2 separate regions of the Homo sapiens genome follow, and region 2 is linked to region 1. Evidence: promoter capture Hi-C in 16 types of primary human blood cells and fetal thymus (Javierre and others, 2016). All regions are on one chromosome and are shown on one strand. The core of a region is centred on a gene start or on the middle of the fragment in contact, and the rest is flanking DNA. Distances in the headings are between cores, read along the strand shown. Region 1 holds the start of TAF12 (TATA-box binding protein associated factor 12). Region 2 overlaps SRSF4 (serine and arginine rich splicing factor 4).

What was found. The method cuts DNA at HindIII sites, captures the fragments that hold promoters and counts their contacts. A CHiCAGO score of 5 or more calls a contact.
Region 2: a contact is called between a fragment that was not itself captured here and the fragment with the promoter of TAF12 in region 1, in 1 of 17 cell types (neutrophils). The highest score is 6.0, in neutrophils.

Annotation. Positions count from the first base shown.
Region 1 is chr1:28,639,822-28,647,049 of GRCh38, reverse strand. It overlaps TAF12 (TATA-box binding protein associated factor 12), which reads left to right and starts at 3,983. Exons shown (of 6, transcript NM_005644.4): 1 at 3,983-4,058. It overlaps TAF12-DT (TAF12 divergent transcript), which reads right to left and starts at 3,794. Exons shown (of 2, transcript NR_146730.1): 1 at 3,287-3,794. RefSeq lists an enhancer at 1,432-1,931 and a silencer at 2,139-2,433. The HindIII fragment of the contact is 14,626 bases long and covers 1-4,829 here.
Region 2 is chr1:29,164,157-29,171,067 of GRCh38, reverse strand. The region is part of intron 1 of SRSF4 (serine and arginine rich splicing factor 4); the gene reads left to right. It also overlaps a transcript of MECR not described here. Among named protein-coding and RNA genes, the nearest start is that of SRSF4, 14 kb to the left of the region's middle. RefSeq lists an enhancer at 5,966-6,586. The HindIII fragment of the contact is 3,765 bases long and covers 897-4,661 here.

The DNA of each region.
Region 1 (7,228 bases), core at 2,734-5,233:
CCAGCCTGGCCAACATGGTGAAACCCTGTCTCTATTAAAAATACAAAAAATTGGCCGGGTGCGGTGGCTCACGCCTGTAATCCCAGCACTTTGAGAGGCCGAGGTGGGCAGATCACTAGGTCAGAAGATCGAGACCATCCTGGCTAACACGGTGAAACCCCGTCTCTACTAAAAATACAAAAAATTAGCCGGGTGTGGTGGCGGGTGCCTGTAGTCCCAGCTACTCGGGAGGCTGAGGCAGGAGAATGGCGTGAACCCAGGAGGTGGAGCTTGCGGTGAGCCGAGATTGCACCACTGCACTCCAGCCTGGGCGACAGAGTGAGACTCTGTCTCAAAAAAAAAAAAAAAAAAAATTGGCCGAGTGTGGTGGCAGGTGCCTGTAATCCTAGCTACTAGGGAGCTGAGGCAGGAGAATCACTTGAACCTGGGAGGCAGAGGTTGCAGCGAGCCGAGACTGTGCCATTGCACTCCAGCTTGGGCAACAAGAGCGAACTCCGTCTCAAAAAAAAATAAATAAATAATAAAGTAAAATGTTTTCAACACAAAATATAGACTGTTAGGTATTTTACTTTCTTTAATATATTTTAATAATACATGGAGTTCCCTGCTCTTTACAAAGTAGAAGTCACAAGAGAAAGGAGATAAATAAACAGCTCTTACATTGTAATAGGAAGCAGATGTGTTGTATAAACTTGTGAGAAGCCCAGAGATGGTGCTGTCAATTGCTCTTCCTATCATCCACCAGTGTTATCTCTCTCTCTGTCTTTTTTCCTGAGACAGTGTGTTGCTCTGTTGTCCAGGCTGGAATGCAGTGGTGCAATCATAGCTCACTGCAGCCTGGAACTCCTAGGCTCAAGCAGATCCTCCTGCCTGTCAGTCTCCTGAGTGGCTGGGACTACAGGTACACACCACCATGCTGAGGCTAATTTTTTTTTTTTTTTTTTAGAGACAGTGTCTCCCTATCTTGCCCAGGCCGGTCAAACTCCTGGGCTCAAGCAGTCCTCCTGCTGCGCCTCCCAAAGTGTTGGGATTACAGGTGTAAAGCCACCACATCTGACCTTATCTCTCTTTTTTTTTTTTTTCCCAGACAGTCTCACTCTGTTGCCCAGGTTGGAGTGCAGTGGCACGATCTCGGCTCGCTTCAACCTCTACCACCCAGGTTTAAGCGATTCTCATGCCTCAGCCTCCTGAGTAGCTTGGGACTACAGGCACGCGCCACTACACCCGGCTAATTTTTAAAATATTTTTAGTAGGTTTCACCCTGTTGGCCAGGCTGGTCTCAAACTCCTAACCTCAAGTGATCCACCTGCCTCGGCCTCCCAAAATGCTGGGATTACAGGCGTGAGCCACAGTGCCTGGCCTGGCCTTATCTGTTTTTTTGTTGTTGTTGTAGTTTTGTTTGAGATGGAGTCTTGCTCCCGTCACGCAGGCTGGAGTGCACTGGCTCAATCTCCGCTCACTGCAACCTCCACCTCCCGGGTTCCAGCGATTCTCCTTCCGCAGCCTCCTGAGTAGCTGGGGTCACAGGCGTGCACCACCACGCCCAGCTAATTTTTGTATTTTTAGTAGAGATAGGGTTTCACTATTTTGGCCAGGATGATCTCTATCTCCTGACCTCGTGATCCTCCTGCCTCAGCCTCCCAAAGTGCTGGGATTACAGGCGTGAGCCAGGGTGTCCAGTCCTTATCTCTTAAAGAAAAAAAAAAAAAAGAAGAGGCCGGGCGCAGTGGCTCCTGCCTGTAATCCCAGCATTTTGGGAGGCCAAGGCAGGCGGATCACGAGGTCAGGAGATCGAGACCATCCTGGCTAACATGGTGAAACCCCATCTCTACTAAAAATACAAAAAATTAGCCGGGCGCGGTGGCGGGCGCCTGTAGTCCCAGCTACTTGGGAGGCTGAGGCAGGAGAATGGCATGAACCTGGGAGGCGGAACTTGCAGTGAGCCGAGATAGCTCCACTGCAGTCCGGCCTGGGTGAAACAGCGAGACTCCGTCTCAAAAAAAAAAAAAAGAAAATTCATCTACTTGGGAAGCTGAGGTGGAGGAGGATCGCTTGAACACAGGAGTTTGAGGCTGTAGTGAACTATGATTGTGCCACTGCACTCTAGCCCTGGTGACAGAGTGAGACCCTGTATCATTTAACAATCGCCATAATTTCACCGTTCTTCCAACACCTTCCCATTGCATACTGAATATAATCTCAAGTCCCCATCATAGTCTAGGCTAAAAGGTCCAGACTATAACAAACCCCTGCCTACCTCTCCAAACTCATTGTCTTTCCCGGTTACCAAAGCTCCAGCCACCTTGGCCATCTTGGTCCTTGAGTAAGTGTTTTCCTTACTGAAGACCATGGCTCAGGCCATCAGCCAGCTAGATAAGTCTGGCTTATTCCAGTATTCTCTTCTATCACCCTTTTGTGCAGTTGCTAATGGTCTGTTTCCCACTCTAGGTTGCAAACTTTCTAAGGACAGAGATCATCCGTCTTAGCCACCAGTTATGTACTCAGCACATAGCAAAAGGCTTGTCACACAATGAGACTCAAACACTTGTCAAATGAACGTATATACATTCAACCTGGGTCTTAAAAAAGATGTATAGGCATTCAACAACAAAAAGTGGTATGCCGGACCCTAAAAAGAATGGAGAGCAGTGGCAAGGAAATAAGGCTAGGAATACAGCTTAGAGCCCAATGTTCATGAGGACTTGAATCTGAGAATTTGGATTGGGTGGCAGTGTAGAGGGTGGACTGGGAACGTGGTAGGATGAGGATTAGGAAGATATAAAGACAGGGCAGGATGCCGCACCAATCTGGGCACCTCTTCCTAATTTCTATGTGGCTCACTCTGGCCTGTCACAGCTCTTTATACAATTTTTGGTGTGTTTGTGGGTTCTTCTCCATCTTACTGTGAACCTTACAGATGCTGGAATTGGGTCTTACTTGCATGCCTAACATTCCAGCATACAGTAAAAAATAACAGCTGTTCTCTTTTTTTTTTTTTTGAGACAGAGTCTCGCTCTGTCGCCCAGGCTGGAGTGCAGTGGCGCGATCTCGGCTCACTGCAACCTCCGCCCCTCCAGGTTTAAGCAGTTCTCTGCGTCAGCCTCCGGAGTAGCTGCGATTACAGGCGCATGCCACCACGCCCGGCTAATTTTTTGTATTTTTAGTAGAGACGGGGTTTCACCATCTTGGCCAGACTGGTCTTGAACTCTTGACCTCGTGATCCACCCTCCTCGGCCTCCCAAAGTGCTGGGATTACAGGCGTGAGCCACATAACAGCAGTTCTCACCAAGCATCTGACAGCCGAAAAACTGAAAGCATTAGAGAATGCTACAGGACAGGCTTTGGCTTAGTAGTGAGTTCTGAGTTCAAGCTGAGGCTCTGCACTTATTAGCTAGAACTTTGCTTAATCTCTCACAGGTCTCCTCTAAATGATTAAATGGCGTAACGGAGGTAAGCGGATTAGCACAATTCCCGGCAAACAGTAAGCACTCAATTGTTACTACTGAATTGCCAGTTCACAGGCACAACCAACCGATCTCTCTCATCTCCTGGTTCCTCTGTTGCCAACTTCCTCGTTGAGGTCCAACAGGATACCTGTGGGGTAATGTGTCCCAGATGATATCCCAGTCCTGACACCAAGACAAAGGCACCAACCAAAAATGGCGACCTCAAAGCCATCCGAGGGCGTCAATTACCCGTCATGCTACCGATAGATAAATAAGCAGCGTCGGGAAGAAAAGCTAGTGAAGGATTCTTAACGCCGGGTTGGAATACGCAGAGCTCGCTCATGCTGCCACTCAACCACAAGCAGTTAAAAGCGCAAGCTGCAGGGTGTACCTACACACAGCTCAATATCGCCACCACGTGTCGGAGGGCAGTCTGCGCCTGCGCAAGCGAGGCGCGCGCCCGCCGGCCGGAAGAGCCGCGCGTTTCCGGGTTGGAGGCGGGGAGCGGTGCCGGAAGTAGTCGGGGAGGGCCGCGCAGTCGGACCGGCTGCTGAGACGAACGCTTCACTGGGGCAGTCTCTGCATATCATGGGGAGATAGACGCTGCTGCCTGTGAGTCTTGGGCCCTGGCAGTTGAGGAACAAGAGCGGGAGGAGGGAGTCAGGACCCAGACCTACAGTGGGTCAGTGTTCGAAGGACCAGGTTGTGGACGAGACGGGGCTGTGAGGATTCAGGCTCTTGGGAAGGGACTGACTGAGAGGATCAGGCTCGGAGAAGACGCGGCTGTGGGGACCCGGGCTCTAAGACGGGACTTAGGGAACGGGGACGGATGCGAGTTCTCCGGCATCTGAGGGAAAGTGGTCTGAGAGGAGCAGGATTATGAGGACCCGCACTCCTACGAGGAAAGGGTCAGAAAGGAACGGGGCGTGAAGACACAGGCTCCGGAGAGGTAAAAGTGGAGCGGTGAGGACTTGGGCTCCTAAGAGGCAGAAGCGGGACAGTGAAGACCCGGGCTCCTAAGGATTCAGAAACGGGGCAGCGAAGACTTAGGTTCCTGAGGGGCAGAAGCAGACAGAGAAAACTTGAGTTTGGAAGGGAACAGAAGCGGGCAGTGAAGACTGGGGCTTCTTTGGGGACGGGATCCGGGCTTTGAGACTCCGAGTTCCTGAGTCTCGGAACAGGGCTGTGAGTACCCAAGCTCCTAAAAGCCTTGGATCTAAGGGACCATGGATATGAGATCAGCCTACAAAGTAAAGGGAAAGGGTTTGGAAAAGATTTAGTGATCCATTTTTTCACAGTATTCCCTGAACCCAGAGAGATAAAGGACGTATTCAGGGGAAGACAACTTCTCCTTCGCACTGCCTACTTGGCTCTTGGCAAGCTTTTCTTGTGTCAGATACTCAATCTAGGAAGCCCATATGCAAACATCTTCATTTTCTGCTTCATTCTTGGGAATCAGATGTGAAGTTGAAAACAGTTGGAACTCAGTTATGTACTTGATAAGTGCTTTAAATCCCATTCCACTCAACCCTGAATGAGCACAGATCTCTGCATCTCAAATAAAAGAATGTCAGTGATGGAAGAGTCCCAAAAGATCATCTTTTAAAAACTCCTATTTTACATTTAAGAAGGCTAAGGTTCAAAGAGGCTTAGGATTACAGTGAGGCAATGGTTAGTTAGATCATAATTTTAATACAGTACCCTTCTGTGCGTAGCAAATGAGATGCTTGGTTAATGTTCCTTAAATGCTTCTAGAATCTTTGCTTTATCTTCAAACTCAGGAGGGAATTTTTTTTTTTTTTTTTTTTTTGAGACAGGTTCTCTCTCTGTCGCCCAGTCTGAAGTGCAGCGGCTCAGTCTTGGCCCCGTGCACCTCCAACCTCCTAGGCTCAAGCAGTCTTCCCACCTATACCTCCTGAGTAGCTGGAACTACGGGCGTGTGCCACCACGCCCTGCTAATTTTTAAATTTTTTGTAGAAACAGGGTCTCACTATATTGCCCAGGCTGGTCTCAAACTCCTAAGCTCAAGTGATCCTCCCACCTTGGCCTCCCAAAGTGCTGGGATTACAGGCATGAGTCACCTCACCCCCCTTGCAGTTTTTGTTTTTGTTTTGTTTTGTTTTGTTTTTTTGAGACAGAGTCACCCAGGCTGGAGTGCAGTGGCACGATCTCGGCTCACTGCAATCTCTGCTTCCCCAGTTCAAACGATTCTCCTGCCTCAGCCTCTCAAGTAGCTGGAATTACAGGTGTGTGCCACAATGCCCGGCTACTTTTTGTATTTTTAGTAGAGACAGGTTTTTGCCATGTTGGCCAGGCTGTGTTTCGAACTCCTGATCTCAAGTGATCCGCCCGCCTCAGCCTCCCGAAGTGCTGGGATTATAGAAATGAGCCACTGCGCCCGGCCCAGTTTTTATTTCCAGTAAAAACTGGAAATTTTTACAGTTTCTGATAATTTGAGTGTTGTTACTGTATTGACATTAATACAGTAAATGTCACTTAATAGTAAGGAAACCTTTATTTTTATTTTTGTGTTTTTGAGACAGGGTCCTGTTCTGTTGCCCATATTGGAGTGCAGTGGCATAATCATAGTTCACTGCAACCTATATTCTTGGGCTCAAGCACTCCTCCTGCCTCAGCCTCCTGGGACTGCAGGTATGAGCCACTACACCCAGCTAATTTTTAAGTTTTTTTGTAGAGACAGTGTTTGGCTGTGTTGCCTAGGCTGCTGTTGAATTCTTGGCCTCAAATGATTCTCCCGCCTTGGCCTCCCAAAATGTTCTTATAGGCATGAGCCACTGCACCTGGCTGGAACCTTTAAATAAAGCTCAGTGTTATTTATTTATTTAATAAGCTGTTTGGAAAGTCATAAATAAGTGTGTCCTGTATTTTTAGTGCAAACATTTACTAGGGATGGCTGCTTTTGGATAAGGATGGTGGGGAGACTTGCACCAGTCACTTCCTTCAATATTAATATCTTTTTCTGAAACCTACTCAGACTAACGAGGCACAGCTTATGCACTATCGAGTATTCTATGATTTAATTATCACAGCCCCACAAGTTAGATATTGTCAGTCCCGTTGTACAGATAATGAAATAGGTTTAGAGAGGTTACTTTGCCTGAAATCACACAGTGACCCAACCCCAGTTACATGTGCCTCTAAAACTTTTTTCTACTCTTCTAAGTGGATTCCTCTCAGTTTGTCCATCAGCAAAATAGAAGTAATCGTTATACAAAACATATAATTGAATGAAAGCATCTCCTCCTTCTTAAGGCTCCTCTAAATGTCAAGGACTATAACATATTAGGGTACTTATGTATTGTGGCATTTGAGAACTAAATTCTGTTTTCACAGAAGCATAGATTATTCAAGATAGAAAAACGGGAACTTTGTAGAGCTTTTCCTTGCAATGTAGAAAGACATTTAATTTTAGATTTAGGAGGCCAAGAAAGACTAATTTGGACTGGGCATGATGGCTCACACCTGTAATCCCAGCACTTTGGGAGGCCAAGGCGGGCGGGTCACCTGAGATCAGGAGTTCGAGACCCGCCTGGCCAACATGGCAAAACCCCGTCTCTACTAAACATACAAAAATTAGCTGGGCATGGTGGCACATGCCTGTAGTCCCAGCTACTCTGGAGGCTGAGGTGGGAGAGAATCACTTGAATCCTGGAGGTGGAGGTTCAATGAGCCGAGATTGTGTCACTGTACTCCAGCCTGGACAACAGAATGAGACTCTGTCTGAAAAAAAAAAAAAGTAATTTGAAAAACAAGGGCTTAAA
Region 2 (6,911 bases), core at 1,530-4,029, 530 kb before region 1:
TTATAGTACCCTGAAGGTGAGGGATTAGATTATGCTCTGAATTTGTATGCCCATAGTTTGAGGAAATGTTTTACTTGAGTTTTCTGTGTGTTGAGATGAAAGTCTCCCAGGCTAAAGATTTCTGAACTGCACGCAATGTCTGAAGAAGCGCTTGAAAGGCACTTTATTTCTCCCAGGTCCCCAACCATGGGTTTAGGTTTTTATGCCAGAAAGGGGACCTTCATGAACAAAGACCCCCAAGACCTAGAGAGAAGAGGAAGTCTGAAAGAGGGAGGTTTGAATTCAGCCTTCAGGAATGAAGAGGGCAGACAGAGCAGGAGGCTCAGGCAAGGGAGTCAGGAACCACAGACCAGAAACATGGACTTGGAAAGGTTTTCATGTAATTGAAATGAAGCTATTGATCCATCCATTTTAAAAGAATTTGAAAAATTCATTAAAATACTTAATTAGTGGCATCCACTAATTAATAAAAGCATAGGGAGTGGCATCTTTAACCAAAAATGAAAATGAAGAAACAGACTCCAGCCCAGGGACCAGGGGCGATTATGAGGGACATGGTGCCTCATACAGCCAAGATGATCCAAGAGGCATCATCTTTAATGAAGCTTTAACACCTGGCAGCCTGCTCATTGTGTTGTTTAAGAGGTAAGTATGAACTGGTTTTGTTTGTAGCTTTTGTGTGGAATCAGGTAGTGCTGTCTGCAGAGTGTAAACCTTTATTTCTTTAAGTAGGAATAACAGATAAAGTAATTCTATATTAAATCCCAAGAGTTTTATTCTAAATTGGTAATGTGACTTTCATCTCTCGAGTTTTTTCAAATCGTTTTTAATTTGTGGTTGAGTCTTCACGAACTTCTTGTCATCAGGCAATAGTTGATTCCCCTTTTTTGAAAGCTTTCAATTTCATTTATCCTTAGTGTTGAAAAGTGTCAGAAAATTGAAATGGACACAGATGATTGTATCTGCCCTCCCTTTCAGGAAAGCCATGTTGACTTTAAAATATCAAAAAAGAAAGTTCAGTTATGATTGCAGGGGGTAATGATAGTTTGATCCACAAACTATTTGCAGTGTAAAAGTGAAATACCTTAGCTGACTTAGTTCATTTTTGAAAGTTTTGAATAGCTAAAACAAAGTTGGCAAATAGGCTCATAGAGTAGTTACAGAGTAAGACTAAATTCATATTTGATGCAGATTCCTCTCTACCTCCCATTCTGGGAGGATTTAGTTTTACTGTTTGGTGTTTAGGATAATGATTGTTCTGTTTTTCTCACCCTACTATGTGAATATATATTCTGTTAGAGATGGGCTGTTATCTGCAATGTGGACTCAATACCATGGGCTTGAGTTTGGTTAGTTCATCATTAGAGATTTTTTTTCAGCAGTTGGTTTACTTTATGAGAAAGGATCATGAGTTTAATTTTCCCACTGATATATTTGTGTTCTCATTGCTGAGATATAAGTTTCTTAATGATTTGTTACCTTTTTCTATTTTCCTAGACTAGTATTAAAATTTTGATGGCATATGGGTTTGGTTCCACTTGTAGAGAATAAATGTTCACAACTTACTGGTATTAGCACACACACATCACATGCAGAAATGGTGTTTTCTTGCCACTTACTCTTTCTCATAAGATGCTTATATTCCTGTGGGCATTTGTCTTCCACACTACAGCACATAATTTGATGAAACTGATTTTCTGTGCAAGAGCTTGTGTTTCTCCAACTCTGGTTTTATGGACCACTTTTCATTGGTATATAGGAGGCGGTTAAAACGTGGTGGTAGAATGCAGGTTTTAGGTTAGCTGGGTGTGAAGAATCCCAGGTCTTTGGGATAGTCTTGGCAAGTTACTCAACTCCTCTAAGTTAGTTTCTTGATCTGTCAGATGACAGTAAACCTCAGAGTTGTGAAAATTAAATGGATATAATGTGTGTAAAGCACTTAGCATAATGCTTTATACATCGTAAAACTTTCAAAAATAGGAGTAGTAATTATTACAAAGAAATGTGAAGAAGAGTCCTAGTGGGCTGCATGTTAAAAATAGTTTTTAGTTAATGAAAATTAAATCACATCTTAGATGTTTATCATCTGCATGGTACTTTTCTGGTTGCTGCTTTAACCTTTGTATAGTTGAAAGTCTGTAAACTTTCTAGTATTCTTTGATTTCTGGCCCATTTCCCTCCTACCATTCACGCTTATATTTTTTGGTTCAAGTCACCATTCCTTGCAAAACTAATTAAATACATTCCTAAATACATAATATTGCCAATATTCATTCACATCCACCACGTCTAGATCCAAGTCTTCATCTTCTTTATGCTGGTCTAATTTTTGCTGAGCCTTAGAAGCAAAGACAGACTCCGGGGGTTGATATGGGACCTCCAGAATGGGGATTGCACAGAATAATCTTATTTTTCCTCTATTCTTCTAGTCTGTTATGTTCTGAACCCACACATGTTTTCGGAAGGACCAGATGGCTGACACTGGCTAATGGGAACCAAAAGACGAGTGAAAGTAACCTGGTTGTCACATACCCCCAGCTTAGAGGTGCTTCACCCTGCCCCAAGGTCAATTTCTTTTTTCTCTAGAGACTTTACCCCATTATATCAAAAACCTTTACTACAGCCTGACTTTATCTGATGTTAGAGTATCATTAAGTCAAGCAGCAGCATTTATTGAGTGAAAAAAGATTGTACACAGGACTGGAAGAGAAGCATCTGCCTTTAAAATACAGTAGAAGGCCGGGCATGGTGGCTCATGCCTGTAATTCTAGCACTTTGGGAGGCCAAGGCAGGTGGATTGCCTGAGCTCAGGAGTTCGAGACCACCCTGGGCAACATGGTGAAACCCTGTCTCTCCTAAAAAAAAAAAAAAAAAAATTACAAAAAATTTGCCGGGCATGGTGGTGCACACCTGTAGTCCCAGCCACTCTAAAGGCTGAGGTACAAGAATTGCTTGAGCCCAGGGTCAGAGGTTGCAGTGAGTGGAGATCGCGCCGCTGCGCTGCAGCCTGCGCGACAGAGCGAGACTATGTTTTTTTTAAAAAAAAAAAAAAAAAGGAATTAGAACCTTGTGGTTTAGAGCTGGGATTTTTAGAGTCATGGGTCTGGGTTCAAATCTAGCTCCTTCACTCATGAGCTCCTTGAAAATGAGCAAGTTGCTTACTCCAAGCCTCAGTTTCTCATTGTAAAATGAGAAGAATAATAATACATTCTTCACATTTGATATACAAATGGATGAAATATTATGGATAAATTATTTACTGTGCCAGGCACTGTGCTAAATAGCCAACAGATATTAGCCTTCGTTTTTCTTAGTGAAGAGCTCATAATCAAAAGAGAAGGTAAGCACAAAGACAAAAACAAGACTTAAAAAGCTACAGAAACATGACTGGGCACAGTGGCTCACGCCTGTAATCCCAGCACTTTGGGAGGCTGAGGCGGCCATATCACAAGGTCAGGAGTTTGAGACAAGCCTGACCAACATGGTGAAACCCCGTCTCCACTAAAAATATAAAAATTAGCTGGGCGTGGTGGCGTGTGCCTGTAATTCCAGCTATTCAAGAGGCTGAGGCAGGAGAACTGCTTGAACCTGGGAGGTGGAGGCTGCAGTGAGCCAAGATTGTGCCTTTGCACTCCAGCCTGGGCAACAGAGCGAGACTCCATCTCAAAAAAACAAAAACAAAAAGCGTAAAATTGAATAGAAGTGCTAAAGCTAAAGAAAGTCCTAAAATAATTGGAATAGGCAAGTTTCTGAGGCTTCATGAAAGAGGTAATTCTCAAGCATATGGAAGAAGATTGATATAATTCAACTTGTGTAGTCAAGGTGTTCCAGGTTTAGAGAGTGACATAAAGATACTTAGGAGTCGTTATAGACTTCTAAACAAAAAAATGATTTAGTAGCTGACTTTTCCTGACACAATGCAAAAGACAAGTTGACTAAGTAAAAATAGCTCTAGCCTAGAATTACATAAATTAATCCAAATGGTAGAGACAGCCCTGAAGGCCCAGCAAATGAGAAAACTGCAGAACTTGGCAGTAGACCCAGTGGGTAACCAATAAGATATAGTCAGAAGTGATTACAAAGGTGTTGGGAGCAAATTAGATGGTCAAGGGATCCGGAAGAGAGAAATCATGAGGTAGGTTTTCTTCTTTGAAGGTGGGGAAAGATCAAGTGCAGACTGAGCTGTGGCCAACGTTTGCAGACCAGGAATCCACACTAGCTCTAATCAGAGAGCCCTTGGTGTGCGGGAACTGCCAGTTTGCCGACGTGAAAAGAGTCCCAGACTGGGTAATGGTGAGCCCTGAAGTCGCACCCCAGCTCTGCCACTCAGTGAGCACGGGTAAGTCATCCACCTCCTCCAGGTGGCCTTGATGGCCCTCCCTCCTCTGAGACTAAAGAGAGGCCACAATGCCCAGAGCAGCCTCCTTCCTGTCTCAAGAAAGGAAAGGATCTCAGGAACCCATTTCATGTGGTAGCAGCTTTTAGTTGTGGGTTGTAAACAACCCTCTGTTGCCAGGAAAGTCAAATTGCAACCATAATCACTGATCCTGAGCAGTAAATGTGACATTGGTTAATTCTTCTGTGAGGGCCTGAACGCTGGTTCCCTGGAATGTTGCAGACCTTTGGAATCGGGGCAGTTACACTGTTCTCATTCACAAGCTTTTCTCTGAGTTGGCCTCTTCTGAGCACTAGAGTTGGTTGCAGAAGTGTCTTTCTACAGTTTGCCAAGCACTTTATGCAGACAGCAAGAATTACCGTTTTTTTAGTACTGTCCTATCAGTGTGTCCTGACTTTTTACCTCATAAGACCAAGTTGGCTGAAGCATAGGACATCACTGAGTGCTTTGAAACAAAGCTGTTTGATTCCTGTTCACTGAATGCCATTTCTTTCAGGGTAGATTTAAGGACTTTCCCCTTAAAGTACAGTGCTACTGACTCTAGATTGAGGGTTCAAGCCACCCCGTGGGTTAACTTCAACAGATGAAAATTTTTCCTTGGCTACAGCAACATCCCTAATCCTGACCAGCCATGGAGAGGTTCGGTTCTTACAAGGAAAATGAGTGAATGTGGGAATGGCTCACCACATTGTGAAAACAAAACTCACATCCTGCTGATGGTTGGCTGAGGACTGTCATGTCCACATACAAAGAAAAGCATGTGGCACAGTTTTAGGACAAAGGTGAGCAGAGATCCACCGTGGAAAGGGGCATATTTTCTTATAGAGAGACCATCCAAGGCATGCCCCTCGGTAAGCAGTGTTGGTGGGTGACCACGGTCACACGCATGGAGGCTTGCTTTCCCCTGCTCCTCATACCCACTCCCTAGCAGTTTCTGGTATTGAGCACCCCCTTAGTCATGCCTTGCCCAGTTAGCCATTGATCAGCCTGTTTCCAGAGCAAGCCATGGGTATTAGATTGCAGACAGGACTTAGTCTCCCTGTTCAGTGAAGATGTTTGGAATACAGAAGTGACCCTAAGCTGTTCTGAAAAGAGTTGAGGTAAATCCTATTCAGTAGAACATAACAGAGCAAAGGGCAGACTTGGTGTTTGGGACCATTGGTATAGGCTATTAGGATCAGAGAAAGGATATTTAGCAAGGATACAAACTCAGATAATAATTCTTGCCTGAAGAAGTGTGGTTAACATTTCAAAAGTTGAAGTCTTAGAGTACCTTAGTTTTAAAAATACGTCATTCCAGTTCTACCTTTTCAGAATTATGACTGATAACCTGAGCAGTACATCAGCTATTGAATGACGAAGATGAGCGCATTGGCAATGGGATAAGAATGGACTAAAGTTTAGAGCAGCCCATGTAATTCAGTGTGGCTTTTGTTTGTGGTATCCAGATACCTGTCTATACTTGGTAAGACTCATGGTGCCTGCCTTTTTTTACAGGGAAAATGACAGCAACTTCCCCTCATTCTTTTGACTAGGTTTGTGAGGATAGAATGTGACCAGAGGAAAATAGTTTTGGTAAAGACAACACAGTGCTTGGGATCAGACGAATTTTGGATTTCAGGGTTTTTTTTGGGATTTGGGAATGTTTGTATTGTACTTAATGGTTGAGCATTCCTAAACAAAATCCAAAATGTTCTGATGAGCAAATTTGAGCATCTTGTTGCTGCTCAGAAAGTTTCGGATTTTCGAGCATTTCAGATTTTGGATTTTCGGATTCAGAATACTCAACCTATTGCAGAGAAACATTAAAGAAAGGAGTTTCTTCTCTTACTTGAAGGGTGTTGTGTATTGAATAGTGAGGTCATGCTTTTTATTCTTTCATATGCATAGGGGAGGAAGATTGAAAGTGTATCGCAGGGCTCTTTGTGTTTCTGTCAATCCCTGCTGTGGAGGGGTTTTTACATTTGTCTTAGATTCTTTCTCCTGAATTCCTGCATCCTATGAATTATTGAAAGGTGTTCTTTGTTTTTAATAGAGCAGAAGAGGAAGGATTTCTGCTGTTAGAATTAGAGAAATTTATCTCTTGGGTTGTTTTGTGAGGCTTATTCACAAGTCACACCAGAGATGTATATACATATATGTACACACGTGCATACATATAATAGTATGTATACATGCATGTGTGTATTTTATATTCCTTTTTACTCTGACAGAGGATTCAAAAGGAGATTGCTTTCTGAGAAAAGAGATTTGTTTCACGTTACTTGCTGCAAAGCACAAAGGGAGTGTTAAGCTTGGCTTTAAAAGGCTCTAGTGTTAGTTACCAGGAAGAGCTTTACTTTGTTGAAGGCACTAATTAATTCAGGAACAGTTAAAAGTGTTTAAATGAACTAAAATTGGGACCCATACATAAAAGGTATTTTAGATGATAAAAATGTATCCCTTTTCATCTGTTGGTGTCTGGTGGTACCATCCTAGTGCAGGCATGTCAAATTTTAGAGTTTAAATTTTCCAT